Regions from separate parts of the Homo sapiens genome. Here all the other regions are linked to region 1. The links are contacts of gene promoters, found by promoter capture Hi-C in blood cells and fetal thymus (Javierre and others, 2016). All regions are on one chromosome and are shown on one strand. The core of a region is centred on a gene start or on the middle of the fragment in contact, and the rest is flanking DNA. Distances in the headings are between cores, read along the strand shown.

Evidence for each region. Contacts are between HindIII fragments. The CHiCAGO score rates a contact against its expected background, and 5 or more counts as called.
Region 2: a contact is called between the fragment with the promoter of CFAP206 here and the fragment with the promoter of PHIP in region 1, in 2 of 17 cell types (total CD8 T cells and activated CD4 T cells). The highest score is 14.5, in total CD8 T cells.
Region 3: a contact is called between a fragment that was not itself captured here and the fragment with the promoter of PHIP in region 1, in 1 of 17 cell types (total CD8 T cells). The highest score is 5.3, in total CD8 T cells.
Region 4: a fragment that was not itself captured here is called in contact with the fragment with the promoter of PHIP in region 1 in 3 of 17 cell types (total B cells, total CD8 T cells and fetal thymus); the score reaches 11.1 in total B cells.

The regions. Positions count from the first base shown.
Region 1 is chr6:79,076,413-79,079,701 of GRCh38, reverse strand. It overlaps PHIP (PHIP subunit of CUL4-Ring ligase complex), which reads left to right and starts at 1,448. Exons shown (of 40, transcript NM_017934.7): 1 at 1,448-1,673; 2 at 1,789-1,847; 3 at 1,973-2,002; 4 at 2,195-2,254. The coding sequence starts at 1,634. LOC124901346 (a long non-coding RNA gene) reads right to left here. Exons shown (of 2, transcript XR_007059652.1): 2 at 2,436-3,289. RefSeq lists an enhancer at 1,021-1,070 and silencers at 1,191-1,430, 1,561-1,730, 2,230-2,729. The HindIII fragment of the contact is 4,735 bases long and covers 523-3,289 here.
Region 2 is chr6:87,406,402-87,409,690 of GRCh38, reverse strand. It overlaps CFAP206 (cilia and flagella associated protein 206), which reads right to left and starts at 1,719. Exons shown (of 13, transcript NM_001031743.3): 1 at 1,602-1,719. The HindIII fragment of the contact is 4,290 bases long and covers 1-2,461 here.
Region 3 is chr6:73,515,310-73,518,598 of GRCh38, reverse strand. It overlaps EEF1A1 (eukaryotic translation elongation factor 1 alpha 1), which reads left to right. Exons shown (of 8, transcript NM_001402.6): 6 at 1-245; 7 at 335-569; 8 at 665-2,849. The coding sequence ends at 789. Among named protein-coding and RNA genes, the nearest start is that of EEF1A1, 4.1 kb to the left of the region's middle. RefSeq lists a silencer at 2,979-3,273. The HindIII fragment of the contact is 197 bases long and covers 1,365-1,561 here.
Region 4 is chr6:73,654,650-73,657,938 of GRCh38, reverse strand. No RefSeq gene overlaps it. Among named protein-coding and RNA genes, the nearest start is that of SLC17A5, 2.3 kb to the right of the region's middle. RefSeq lists an enhancer at 2,743-2,832. The HindIII fragment of the contact is 2,167 bases long and covers 625-2,791 here.

The DNA.
Region 1 (3,289 bases), core at 199-2,698:
ATATTGAACTCTCAAGTCTTTTTGGAAAGTGCTTAAATCATCTGGAGATAAATATCATTTGGTGTCCTTGTTTTCTAACAAATGGCTTTTTCTATTGTTTCCATTAATTTCACCCATATTCGTTTTTTTAAAAACAAGGCCCTTATCCTCATCAGCAAAACACAGATGTATGATTTAGCATATAAAATCGGTAATTACATACTAATTTACGAAAGATTTTTTTTTCTCCTTTTCGTCAGTTTTCAAGAAGTCTTCCCGTGATTAACTGTAAACAGGAATGGTTTACATCTCAAATTAGAAGCCATTAATTAGCATGACGAAGTCAACTGCAAGATACACAGATTATTTAAATTATTTAATCACTATTCACCTTGGCTAAACTGTAGTATACTCTTTCAATATCCTTAGGCAGGTTATCGATCTGTCACTAAATTACCTCCAGATCAGTTAGACATGAATATTAGCGTCCTTTCCTTTCCCTCAGGTTTACATTCTCCCTTCTCGTAAACACTTAAAAAAGCTTTAAGGTTCTTTAATTCCAAATACCTAATTAGCCATCACTAGCCTTTTTGTAATAAGGAAAAAGAGTATCTGAAGTACAAATCAAGAGTTCGCTTTGCCCGTTTAACAATAAAAAACATTTAAAAAACGTACGCCAAAGGCAATGGCAGTAATAAAAGAAATATGCAGAGGTGGCTTCAGCAAATAACGGGTTTGCAAAACGCAAGTGCTTAACAAAAAGCAGCCCAAACCTCTATTGCAATATACAGCACTCCAATAAATTACACAACACTTGCATAGGCTGCAGAAATAACGCAGGACAAGACTTACACAGATGCCAATCCGCAGCATTTATACACATGCACATGGCAAGAGACAGAAACCAAACACTATCATTCAACTCGGGAAGGGTAGCGCGATCCCGAGCTTGCCCAGCGTGAGAGTGCTCTCTGCGTGTGTGTCTGTGTACGCGCGTGAGTGAGACCCATCCTTGGGGCATTTCCCCTCTCTGGGCAGTTTTGCTTCATTTGTTTCATATTTCTGCTACATAGAAACTAACTTCCATCTCAGCTCCAGCCAGCGCCGCTGAATAGAGCCTGTGCTGCGGCTCCGTGTGCGTCAGATCCCTCCGCGGAACCGTCCCCGGCCCCCTCCCTGCCACTATCGGCCTCCACAGAGAAAGCGCCTTCCAGCCAACCGGCGGCTTGGGCTCCGACATCTTCTCCGACTGGAAATAAATAAATAAATCGCACGCCCTGCGGGGAGGAGCGGGTGGGGGTCTCACTGTGCCGCGTGCGGAGCGCTGGGGACGAGGGGTCGGAGGCACTCCTTTTTTAGCGCCGGGGGGCGGGGGCGCGGGCCAGAGCCGGGGCCGAGCCCTGGGCCGCGAAGGCGGCGGACTCCTTTCTGCGGCGGAGGGATCCGCGGCGGAGGCGGCCACGGCCGTAGTCGCTGCCTGAGAGTTGTTGTTTCCTCCTCCTCCTCCTCCGCCTCCGCCGCCGTTGCTTGAATGGTGGAGCCGAAGCTCGGCTCGTGAACACACACTGACAGCTATAGGGCAGGCGGCGGCACCGTCCCCGCTTCCCCTCGGCGGCGGGGTGTCCCGTCGGCGGCCCTGAAGTGACCCATAAACATGTCTTGTGAGAGGAAAGGCCTCTCGGAGCTGCGATCGGGTAAGTCGGGGGGCTGCCGGGGCCGCTGGCACCGGGCGATTCCGCCCGCGGTCCCCCGCCCCCCGCCGCCCGACCGCTCAGCCTGTGTGTCTCCCCGTCCCTCTCTCCCGCGCAGAGCTCTACTTCCTCATCGCCCGGTTCCTGGAAGATGGACCCTGTCAGCAGGCGGCTCAGGTACGGCGGCGCGCGGCGCGGGCCGGGCCGGCGCTCGCCGCTCGCGGGCGTGGGGGAGGGAGGCGGCGGCGGCGGGGCCGCGGCCCGGGGCGCGGGGCTCAGCTCTCCCCGCTTTGTTGTTGCAGGTGCTGATCCGCGAGGTGGCCGAGAAGGAGGTAAGGGCGGCGGCGGCCCGGCGCGTCCCGCCGCCGCGCGGCCGCCTCTGGGCCGCTGCGCCGCCGCTGCCGCCGCCGGCAGGGCGCGGGGCGCGGGGCTCGGGGTCCCCGCCGGGGCGCGGGGCGGGCGGGGGAGGGGAGCGGGCGGGTAGGGGCCGGGGGCCGGGCTCACGGGGTGTCCTCTCCCCGCAGCTGCTGCCCCGGCGCACCGACTGGACCGGGAAGGAGCATCCCAGGACCTACCAGAATCTGGTGAGACATTCACGTCGCAGAGCAAAGAAACTTTTCCCTGAGTCGAATAAAAATTGAATTTCCCGCAATTTTTTACAGAGACAAAAACTTGGCCCTAGAACGTGAAAGCTCCAAAGGCCATGGGGAGGGTTGGGAGGCCGGCGCGGGGTCTGCGGGGGCCAGTGGCCGGGGGTACTCGTACTTCGGGGCCGCAGGGGCTGCGGACAATTTATTTGTGATATTTTGTTAATGTGCTAGAAATAAAGATACGTCATGAGTGTTGTGCAGTGCAAGGCCGGAGGAGGAGGGGCCGGCGCGCGCGTCCGTGCGGGCGCGGGGGCGCGCGAGAGTCGGCGGCGGCGGGAGCGGCGCGAAGAGGGAGAGCGCGCTCGCTCGTTCGCTTGCTCGCTCTGCACGCGCGGCCGGCTCGGCTTTCTCCTGCCCTACACAATAGCTGGTGACTAACTGCTCCGAAGTGGCATTAGCATTTCACAAGCAGGCTATCCAGCCGCTGCGGTACCGTGGCAAGACATTATTTTTTCCCCCTCTGTCGTTTATTTTGTTTTCCTTAAATTCAGTCCTGGGTTTTTTGTTGGAAGGATTCTGATGTGTGATGATAGTTGGTCAGTGCTTCGTCTTGCATTTACTAAAACACATCTTTGCAGAAGTGTAAAGCCTGTAATTCCCTAAAACCAGAAGTTTAGTAGGCTTTTTTTAATTCTTATGGTATGCCTCTCGTTTAATTAAAAATTATTATTGGAGTACACTGAAGAGTTTTGATTTTTGTCCACATATTTACTGTGGGATGGAACTTGGCCTATGAAAGTTGTGTTTATATTGGGACATATTTTGTTTAATAGCTTAAAAACCTTAATTTTGTGGGTTGTCAAAATGAGTATTTTAGGAATCTTTAAAAATTGCTTTTCAGAAGTGGATTTATCACTTCAGTATTGTGATTGGAAGTTACTTTAAAGGAGCTATATTTTCTGTAACACTTTCTCCTAAACTGATACAGGTTCGTTGTGTGAATATGTGTGTGGGGCAGTTAAAGCAGTC
Region 2 (3,289 bases), core at 470-2,969, 8.3 Mb before region 1:
CTCTCCTGTTTTTCATTATTTTTAAAAATGAAGGACTTTATTGAAGACAGACAACGATTGGGATTTCAAATAATTGAAACATTTGATAAATAACATTTTCAATTATTTAAATTATGGTCACTAAACATATATTCCTATCATGATATTCTTAATTAAAAAAAAAAAAAAAGGCTAAGCAGGCTGGGCGCGATGGCTCACGCCTGTAATCCCAGCACTTTGGGAGGCCAAGGCAGGCAGATCACCTGAGGTCGGGAGTTCGAGACCAGCCTGACCAACTCAGAGAAACCCCGTCTCTACTAAAAATACAAAATTAGCCGGGAGTGGTGGCACACGCCTGTAATCCCAGCTACTTGGGAGGCTGAGGCAGGAGAATCGTTTGAACCCGGGAGGCGGAGGTTGCGGTGCCATTGCACTCCAGCCTGGGCAACAAGAGCGAAACTGTGTCTCAGGAAAAAAAAAAAAAGGCTAAGCAGTATTTGTAGGGGAGGGAGGTAAAATTAATGAGAAACCCAAGAGTACAGCTTTAAAAGGAGAAATGCTTATTCCACCACATTCATTAAATGACCCTTCAGAACTGTACTAGAATCTTGGAAAACAATTCTTGCTCAGATCATTAAAATGATCTTTTCCGCACATCTAAAATAGAGTTCAGACTCTCGATAAAAAAAAGCATTTACTATAAGGAAAAAGTGGTAGGTTTTGATCGAGTTTTCTGATTTTCCTGAATATCAGTAACTAAGCACAATGGAAGTTGGCATGTAGAGTATAACAAAGGCAATATCAGGTAGATAAAGCCAACTCCTCAGCATTATTAGCTTTCCAATGGATGAGTACGAAGCACTAGGCATTTTGTCCAGTGAAACCAGATTGCCTGGATTCCATGGTGACCCGACCACTGTCCAGCTGTGAGACCTTGGGCACTTGCTTCACTTCTTTCCAGAGGTGTGAGGACTAAATTAGTCCTGTTTTTAGTGGTTACAACAGTGCGCGGCTTAAGGGAATCGCTTAAAACAGCTTATAATCAGTACTCCAAGATCACAGGCAGCGCATGCGCAAGTGCCAGTCAGTGGGAGAGTCCGTCGCGCTCCGGATCTGTGTGCGCGCTCCGGATCTGTGTGCGCGCTCCGGATCTGTGTGCGCGCTCCGGATCTGTGTGCGCGCTCCGGATCTGTGTGCGCGCTCCGGATCTGTGTGCGCGCTCCGGATCTGTGTGCGCGCTCCGGATCTGTGTGCGCATGCGCGCCGCTGCCGGGTCGCTAGGGACGCGGCTCAGCACCTTCCCTGCACCCACCCTCCAATTACTAAGTCTCCCGAGGTCCGGCTTCTGGGGTAGCCAGTGGAGCGAAACAGAAGCGGGAGGCCTCAGGCACCCGCGCAAAGGCTAGAGGGCAGCCCTGCAGCCCTGGGGTGGCGCCTCCGGCAGGAATGGACCGCTGTTCCAGCTCTGCGGCGGCGCAGCCTAAAGGATCGAGACTGAGAGCTAAGTCTCGACGAGGCAGGACGCGGTCCTCCAGCCGCCCGAGCTCCGCCAGCCGCCCCAAGCTCGCCGCCTGGCGGGGTACGCCTCCGGGTCAAGGGCGCGGAGCCCCGAGTAGGCTGACCTGGATCGGAATCGACAGCAGGAGCCGTGTCTGTCTGCTTCTGTCCTGGGGCCCTCACCGCGACGGTCGGAGCAGTTGGGCGCTCGCAGCCACCGCCGCGTAACCATGGAGATGGAAGGCTCCGGACCAGAGGGGGCGGGGCCAGGTGGGGGTGGGGCGGGGTCCCACTTTGAGGGTCTTTCCCCCAAAAGATGGGCTGGAAAAACTTTAAAAACAAAGGAATTTCAGGCAGAGACATCTTAACCTCCGTGGTTAAGACTGTGAAACACAAGTTCTCGTAAATAAGGATATTAACTTGCTAGCGTGGGAATGATGAGGCGGCTTTGAAAGCGGGGTGGGGGAGAGGGAGGAGCCAGTTGGAGAGGCTGGGAAAACGGAAGGGCTGTATCCTGGGCAAATAGAGTTCTTGTAAAAGTATCTAGTTTTAAAAAACAAAAGTAAAAAGTATCGAGGTTTTATTTCATGTCCCGTTGTTCAAAGGAAGTCTGTAACAGAACGCTCCAAGATGCCCGAAGAGAAAACTGCTCATTCAAGAAGCACATGATAAGAACACATTAGTGTCCGAGTCAAAATAATGAGGTTTTATCCCTTAACGATAATATCGTTAGGCCCACCTTCAGACGTGAAAGTGTGAAAAAGGATTAAATACTCATTAGAAGGAGAGCATCAAACAACAAGGTTTTATTTTTAAACAGTAATTTTTCTCAAACTGCAAACAAATATGCAGAATATGCTTTGCTTAAGGACATTCCCTGATTACTAGGAAATGAATCAACACAAAAACTCAAGAATATACATCATAATATAACACAATTTTATTTCCGCCTTCTAGAAAATGTTCCCGGAATGTGGAAGAAGCTTGTGTAAAAATAGATGTTCAGAGTAACAAGATTTATAATAGCACAGCCTTAGAAATCTAAACACGTTATTTAAGTAAAATATCAGGCAGGTATTTAAAATTATGTTAACAAAAACCTTGTGTTTGTCTTATATTTGTTAAAAGCCAAATGCGAAATTTTTATATAATATGACTTAAACTATATTGACATACATATAATGCACAAAAAGTGTAGGTCAGTTTTTCAAAATCACAGCAAGCAATTAGATCTAAGGATGGAATTATAGGTAAATTACTTTTATTTCTTTATACTTTTCTGTTTTTTCTAGATTTTTCCATAATGAGTATATATTGTCTTATGATCTATAAAACAAAATTTAAAAATACAAGGGAGATGAGACTGGCTATTTGTAGAGAATGAACCCAATTTAGATATACAAATATACTGTAAGTATACAAGGTAAAGCAACCAAAGGACGGTGAGATAGCAAAATTTTAACAGTGGTTGTAACTTTGTAATGGCTTATGGCTGATTTGTCTTCTTTATACTTTAAGATAGCTACCAAAATGTCTTCCATGAGCATATATTATATATTAGAATATTAAATATCTTTTAAGATGGTAAGAATAATACCATCATATTAAGTATAGTTTTAAACTAATGGGCAAATCCTGGCACAAATACTCCCTGAAGTATGTTTGATACTGTTAATTCCTACTTAATGTCAATGTTTTCTTCTCTTTCTGTTACTAATTTAACCCTGTGTTGGGAATGACAGTGTTCTCTTTTAAAAAAAAAAATCTCTCAACCTCTTTCTCAGTGAGAGTGGCCTGTGACATGGTCTAGCCA
Region 3 (3,289 bases), core at 214-2,713, 5.6 Mb after region 1:
TTCCTGTTGGCCGAGTGGAGACTGGTGTTCTCAAACCCGGTATGGTGGTCACCTTTGCTCCAGTCAACGTTACAACGGAAGTAAAATCTGTCGAAATGCACCATGAAGCTTTGAGTGAAGCTCTTCCTGGGGACAATGTGGGCTTCAATGTCAAGAATGTGTCTGTCAAGGATGTTCGTCGTGGCAACGTTGCTGGTGACAGCAAAAATGACCCACCAATGGAAGCAGCTGGCTTCACTGCTCAGGTAACAATTTAAAGTAACATTAACTTATTGCAGAGGCTAAAGTCATTTGAGACTTTGGATTTGCACTGAATGCAAATCTTTTTTCCAAGGTGATTATCCTGAACCATCCAGGCCAAATAAGCGCCGGCTATGCCCCTGTATTGGATTGCCACACGGCTCACATTGCATGCAAGTTTGCTGAGCTGAAGGAAAAGATTGATCGCCGTTCTGGTAAAAAGCTGGAAGATGGCCCTAAATTCTTGAAGTCTGGTGATGCTGCCATTGTTGATATGGTTCCTGGCAAGCCCATGTGTGTTGAGAGCTTCTCAGACTATCCACCTTTGGGTAAGGATGACTACTTAAATGTAAAAAAGTTGTGTTAAAGATGAAAAATACAACTGAACAGTACTTTGGGTAATAATTAACTTTTTTTTTAATAGGTCGCTTTGCTGTTCGTGATATGAGACAGACAGTTGCGGTGGGTGTCATCAAAGCAGTGGACAAGAAGGCTGCTGGAGCTGGCAAGGTCACCAAGTCTGCCCAGAAAGCTCAGAAGGCTAAATGAATATTATCCCTAATACCTGCCACCCCACTCTTAATCAGTGGTGGAAGAACGGTCTCAGAACTGTTTGTTTCAATTGGCCATTTAAGTTTAGTAGTAAAAGACTGGTTAATGATAACAATGCATCGTAAAACCTTCAGAAGGAAAGGAGAATGTTTTGTGGACCACTTTGGTTTTCTTTTTTGCGTGTGGCAGTTTTAAGTTATTAGTTTTTAAAATCAGTACTTTTTAATGGAAACAACTTGACCAAAAATTTGTCACAGAATTTTGAGACCCATTAAAAAAGTTAAATGAGAAACCTGTGTGTTCCTTTGGTCAACACCGAGACATTTAGGTGAAAGACATCTAATTCTGGTTTTACGAATCTGGAAACTTCTTGAAAATGTAATTCTTGAGTTAACACTTCTGGGTGGAGAATAGGGTTGTTTTCCCCCCACATAATTGGAAGGGGAAGGAATATCATTTAAAGCTATGGGAGGGTTGCTTTGATTACAACACTGGAGAGAAATGCAGCATGTTGCTGATTGCCTGTCACTAAAACAGGCCAAAAACTGAGTCCTTGTGTTGCATAGAAAGCTTCATGTTGCTAAACCAATGTTAAGTGAATCTTTGGAAACAAAATGTTTCCAAATTACTGGGATGTGCATGTTGAAACGTGGGTTAAAATGACTGGGCAGTGAAAGTTGACTATTTGCCATGACATAAGAAATAAGTGTAGTGGCTAGTGTACACCCTATGAGTGGAAGGGTCCATTTTGAAGTCAGTGGAGTAAGCTTTATGCCAGTTTGATGGTTTCACAAGTTCTATTGAGTGCTATTCAGAATAGGAACAAGGTTCTAATAGAAAAAGATGGCAATTTGAAGTAGCTATAAAATTAGACTAATCTACATTGCTTTTCTCCTGCAGAGTCTAATACCTTTTATGCTTTGATAATTAGCAGTTTGTCTACTTGGTCACTAGGAATGAAACTACATGGTAATAGGCTTAACAGGTGTAATAGCCCACTTACTCCTGAATCTTTAAGCATTTGTGCATTTGAAAAATGCTTTTCGCGATCTTCCTGCTGGGATTACAGGCATGAGCCACTGTGCCTGACCTCCCATATGTAAAAGTGTCTAAAGGTTTTTTTTTGGTTATAAAAGGAAAATTTTTGCTTAAGTTTGAAGGATAGGTAAAATTAAAGGACATGCTTTCTGTTTGTGTGATGGTTTTTAAAAATTTTTTTTAAGATGGAGTTCTTGTTGCCCAGGCTAGAATGCAATGGCAAAATCTCACTGCAATCTCCTCCTCCTGGGTTCAAGCAATTCTCCTACTTCAGCCTCCCAAGTAGCTGGGATTACAGGCATGTGCTAATTTGGTGTTTTTAATAGAGATGAGGTTTTTCCATGTTGGTCAGGCTGGTCTCAAACTCCTGACCTTAGGTGATCGCCTCGGCCTCCTAAAGTGCTGGAATTACAGGCATGAGCCACCATGCCTGGCCAGGACATGTGTTCTTAAGGACATGCTAAGCAGGAGTTAAAGCAGCCCAAGAGATAAGGCCTCTTAAAGTGACTGGCAATGTGTATTGCTCAAGATTCAAAGGTACTTGAATTGGCCATAGACAAGTCTGTAATGAAGTGTTATCGTTTTCCCTCATCTGAGTCTGAATTAGATAAAATGCCTTCCCATCAGCCAGTGCTCTGAGGTATCAAGTCTAAATTGAACTAGAGATTTTTGTCCTTAGTTTCTTTGCTATCTAATGTTTACACAAGTAAATAGTCTAAGATTTGCTGGATGACAGAAAAAACAGGTAAGGCCTTTAATAGATGGCCAATAGATGCCCTGATAATGAAAGTTGACACCTGTAAGATTTACCAGTAGAGAATTCTTGACATGCAAGGAAGCAAGATTTAACTGAAAAATTGTTCCCACTGGAAGCAGGAATGAGTCAGTTTACTTGCATATACTGAGATTGAGATTAACTTCCTGTGAAACCCAGTGTCTTAGACAACTGTGGCTTGAGCACCACCTGCTGGTATTCATTACAAACTTGCTCACTACAATAAATGAATTTTAAGCTTTAAGATGAAGTGGCATTTCTTTTAACAGTTACTATGTTGGAATTGGTTACAAATTTTGGAGTGGATTTCAAAAGTGAGAGCTAACTTCAGTTGATTTCAAGGTAGTGCTTGGCTTTTTTTGTTTAGACAGGGTTTTACTCCTGCCCTGGTTGGAGTGGAAGTTAACGGCTAACTGCAGTCCTGACTTCTGGGCTTAAGTGATCTTCCCTGAATAGCAGGGACCACAGGTTTTTGCCACCACGCCTGGCTAATTTTTGTATTTTGCCATGTTGCCAAGGCTGGTCAACTCCTGGGCTCAAGTGATCTGCCTGTACTGTATCTTTCCCAGTTAATCTGATATTTATCTTTTAAATCTCAGATGTGCCAGGGCCTCGGCAGTGACTCAAGGAAGAACCCATGTGCTCTTAGTGGGACACGATTTGTTCAGACCTACTAACCTCAAC
Region 4 (3,289 bases), core at 459-2,958, 5.4 Mb after region 1:
GTAATCCCAACACTTTGGGAGGCCGAGATGGTTGGATCACCGGAGGTCAGGAGTTCAAGACCAGCCTGGCCAACATGGTGAAATCCTATCTCTACTAAAAATACAAAAAATTAGCCGGGCATGGTGGTGGGCGCCTGTAATCCCAGCTACTCCGGAGGCTAAGGCAGGAGAATCGCTTGAACCCAGGAGGTTGCAGTGAACTGAGATTGCACCACTGCACTCCAGCCTGAGCAACAAGAGTGAAACTCTGTCTCAAAATAATAATAATAATAAATAAATAACACCAACAATGATCTTTTATGGTAGTGTGCAATCAGGAAATAAATGCCAGATATAAGGGGGAAAAAATGTGTCATCATACTTTTTTTTAATCTTCTTGGGGCCAGGCACAGTGGTTCACACCTATCATATCAATACTTTGGAAGGTCAAGGCAGGAGGACTGCTTGAGCCCAGCCTGGGCGTCACAGGGAGGCCCTGTCTCTAACAAAAATGTTTTTAAATTAGCAGGGCGTGGTGGCACATGCCTGTGGTCTCAGCTACCAGGGAGGCTGAGGTAGGAGGATCACTTGAGCCCAGGAGGTGGAGCCTACAGGGAGCCGTGATCACACCTCTGCACTCAAGCTTAGGTGACAGAGTAAGATCCTGTCTCAAAATCTTCTTGGGAAGATTATAAAAACAAAAACCAAAGTACCTCCTCTGAACCTAGAATCAATGACACTGCAATAGGAAGAAGTACACCCAATGCTCAGATGTTAGTTTGTAATATCATTCTCCTTATAGAAATGGCAGGGGTAGAGAATACACAAGATGAGCCTGGAACATCTTGTTGTACCAGAAAGTAAGGGAATGCTCAAAAAACACAACAATGGAGGCATGCAAGACACAAGAGCCAACTGAAAGAGCTCTTAGTCACCAAAGCTGGAACAATTTGAGCAACAAAATAAATAACATAGTGTTGGGAGTATAACCCAAAGTATAAAATAATAACCATGACATCATACTAATAAAAATAAATGATTGAATAAGTAAATAAATGTAGGAGAATAAACAAATCTCCCAAACAAAAGAATTCTTCCCCTGAAACTGGTGGAGTATAGATAACTCCCCACCCCTTAAGTGAAGGCTGCACATACTGATTTCCTTCCAAAGAGAAAAGTAAGGCCGGGGGAAAAGAGTTAACTTCACAGTGAAAACACCTGACAAACACAACCTCAGGCATGCAATGAGGCTTACCATCACTACTGATAAACATCAGTGATAAATAAGTTGACAGCACATTCCCTTGACATTACATGATGAGAATGGCCCTTTACCTCTATGACCTTTCCCTCAAAAATCCATAACCCCAGTCTAATTATAAGAAAAACATTCAGGCCGGGGGTGGTGGTTCATGCCTGTAATCCCAGCACTTTGGGAGGCTGAGGCAGGTGGAGGCTGAGGCAGGAGGTCAGGAGATGGAGACCATCCTGGCTAACATGGTGAAACCCCATCTCTACTAAAAATACAAAAAATTAGCCGGGCGTGGTGGCATGCACCTATAGTCCCAGCTACTCGGGACGTTGAGGCAGGAGAATCGCTTGAACCTGGGAGGTGGAGGCTGCAGTGAGCCGAGATCGTGCCACTGCACTCTAGCCTGGACGACAGAGCGTGACCTCGTCTCAAAAAAAAATTCGACAACCCAAATTAAGACACTTTCTACAAAACCTACCAGTACTCTACAAAACTGTCAAGGTCAGCAAAAGCAATGAAAGTCAGGAACTGTCGATCTAGAGGAGCCTAAGGAGACATGTAATGTGGCATCCTGGATGAGATCCTGGGACCGAAAAAGGATATTAGGTAAAAATTAAAGAAACGCAAATTAAGTATGAACTTCAGTTAATAATTATCTATACTGGCTCGTTAGTTATGATATATGCATGATACTAATGTAAGATCTTAATAATAGGTCAAACTAAGCAAAGGGTATGGAGAACTCACTGTACTATCTTTGCAACGTTTATGTAAACCTAAAATTTCTAAAATAAAAAATATTAAAAAAAAGAATTCCTCTGGTTTGAAGTCTTTCAAGTCTGTTGCAACTATATTCCCTGGCCCAAGTTATCTATAACCTTGGTCATCTGGGAGCTTGTTAGCAATACAGAATCTCAGGCACATCCCAGATGTACTGGGCTTCTCAGAGAAACAGCCCCAATTGGGTAGTTTGGGTAATAAAGTTTTGGCTTTCACAATATAGGCTGGCCAACTCGACCCAAAACAGATGATGGTGCACATGCCTGGAGACCCAGGAGGACCTGTGGTGCAGATGAAGTCTGAGGACACTCTGCTGGAGAAGTCTCCCTTGCTTGGGCAAGAGAAGTGGGGGAGTCGGATTTTTTATTCTAGATAGGCCTTCAACTGATTGAAGGAAGCCCACCCAGATTATGGAAGGCAGCCATCTTTACCCAGAGTTCAATGATTTTAGTGTTAACCTCATCCAAAGACAACCAGCAAGTTAACACATAAAATTAACCATCACACCAGATCTGCTGAATCTGAATCTACATTTTAAAAGGATTTGCCAGGTGACTCTGCATAATCCAGTTTGAAAATTGCATTTTTCTACAACCCTTAGAGAGTGTAAAAATCTACATGGTAATTCAGTAACTCAGAAACAAGGCTTGATTTGCTGCTTTAACTTGAGAACTTTTCTAGCATTTACTGATCTGGAGGTAGGGATGCCTACAGAAATCCTCGCCCTCCCTTCTAGGTAAAGGACCCTCCCCTTTGTTCTCACGTGAACCTCACTAAGCTTCTAACCTGGTTTACTGAATTAGTGGCTTGTGGGTCTTCCCTGTCTACACCAAACTCTCCGAGAGCATCTACATCTTATTTTCTACCTCCACAGAGACAGCCTTTATTGGCGGATCCAGATCTGCCCTGCCAAGGCAAGCTGGGTTTTCCTAGTTTCACTTTCAGAGTCCGCAAATGCTAGCACAATCTATCCAAATTCTATCGTGGAGATAAAGCATGCACACATACATCAGAGGATTCCATAGGTCGAACCATATGAAACTACCTATGTTGATTACTTTTACCTATAAAACCAGCAACATCATAGGACTCAACAAATTTCCATTGCTGTTTTTCCGCCTAAAAGCTATTTTAGGACCAGGAGCAGTGGCTCACGCCTGTAATCCCAGCACTTTGGGAGGCCGAGGAGGATTGCTTGAGCCCAGGAGTTCGAAACCAGCTTGGGCAATATAATAAGACCAAGCCTCTACAAAAATAAAAAGTAGAAACAAAATTAGC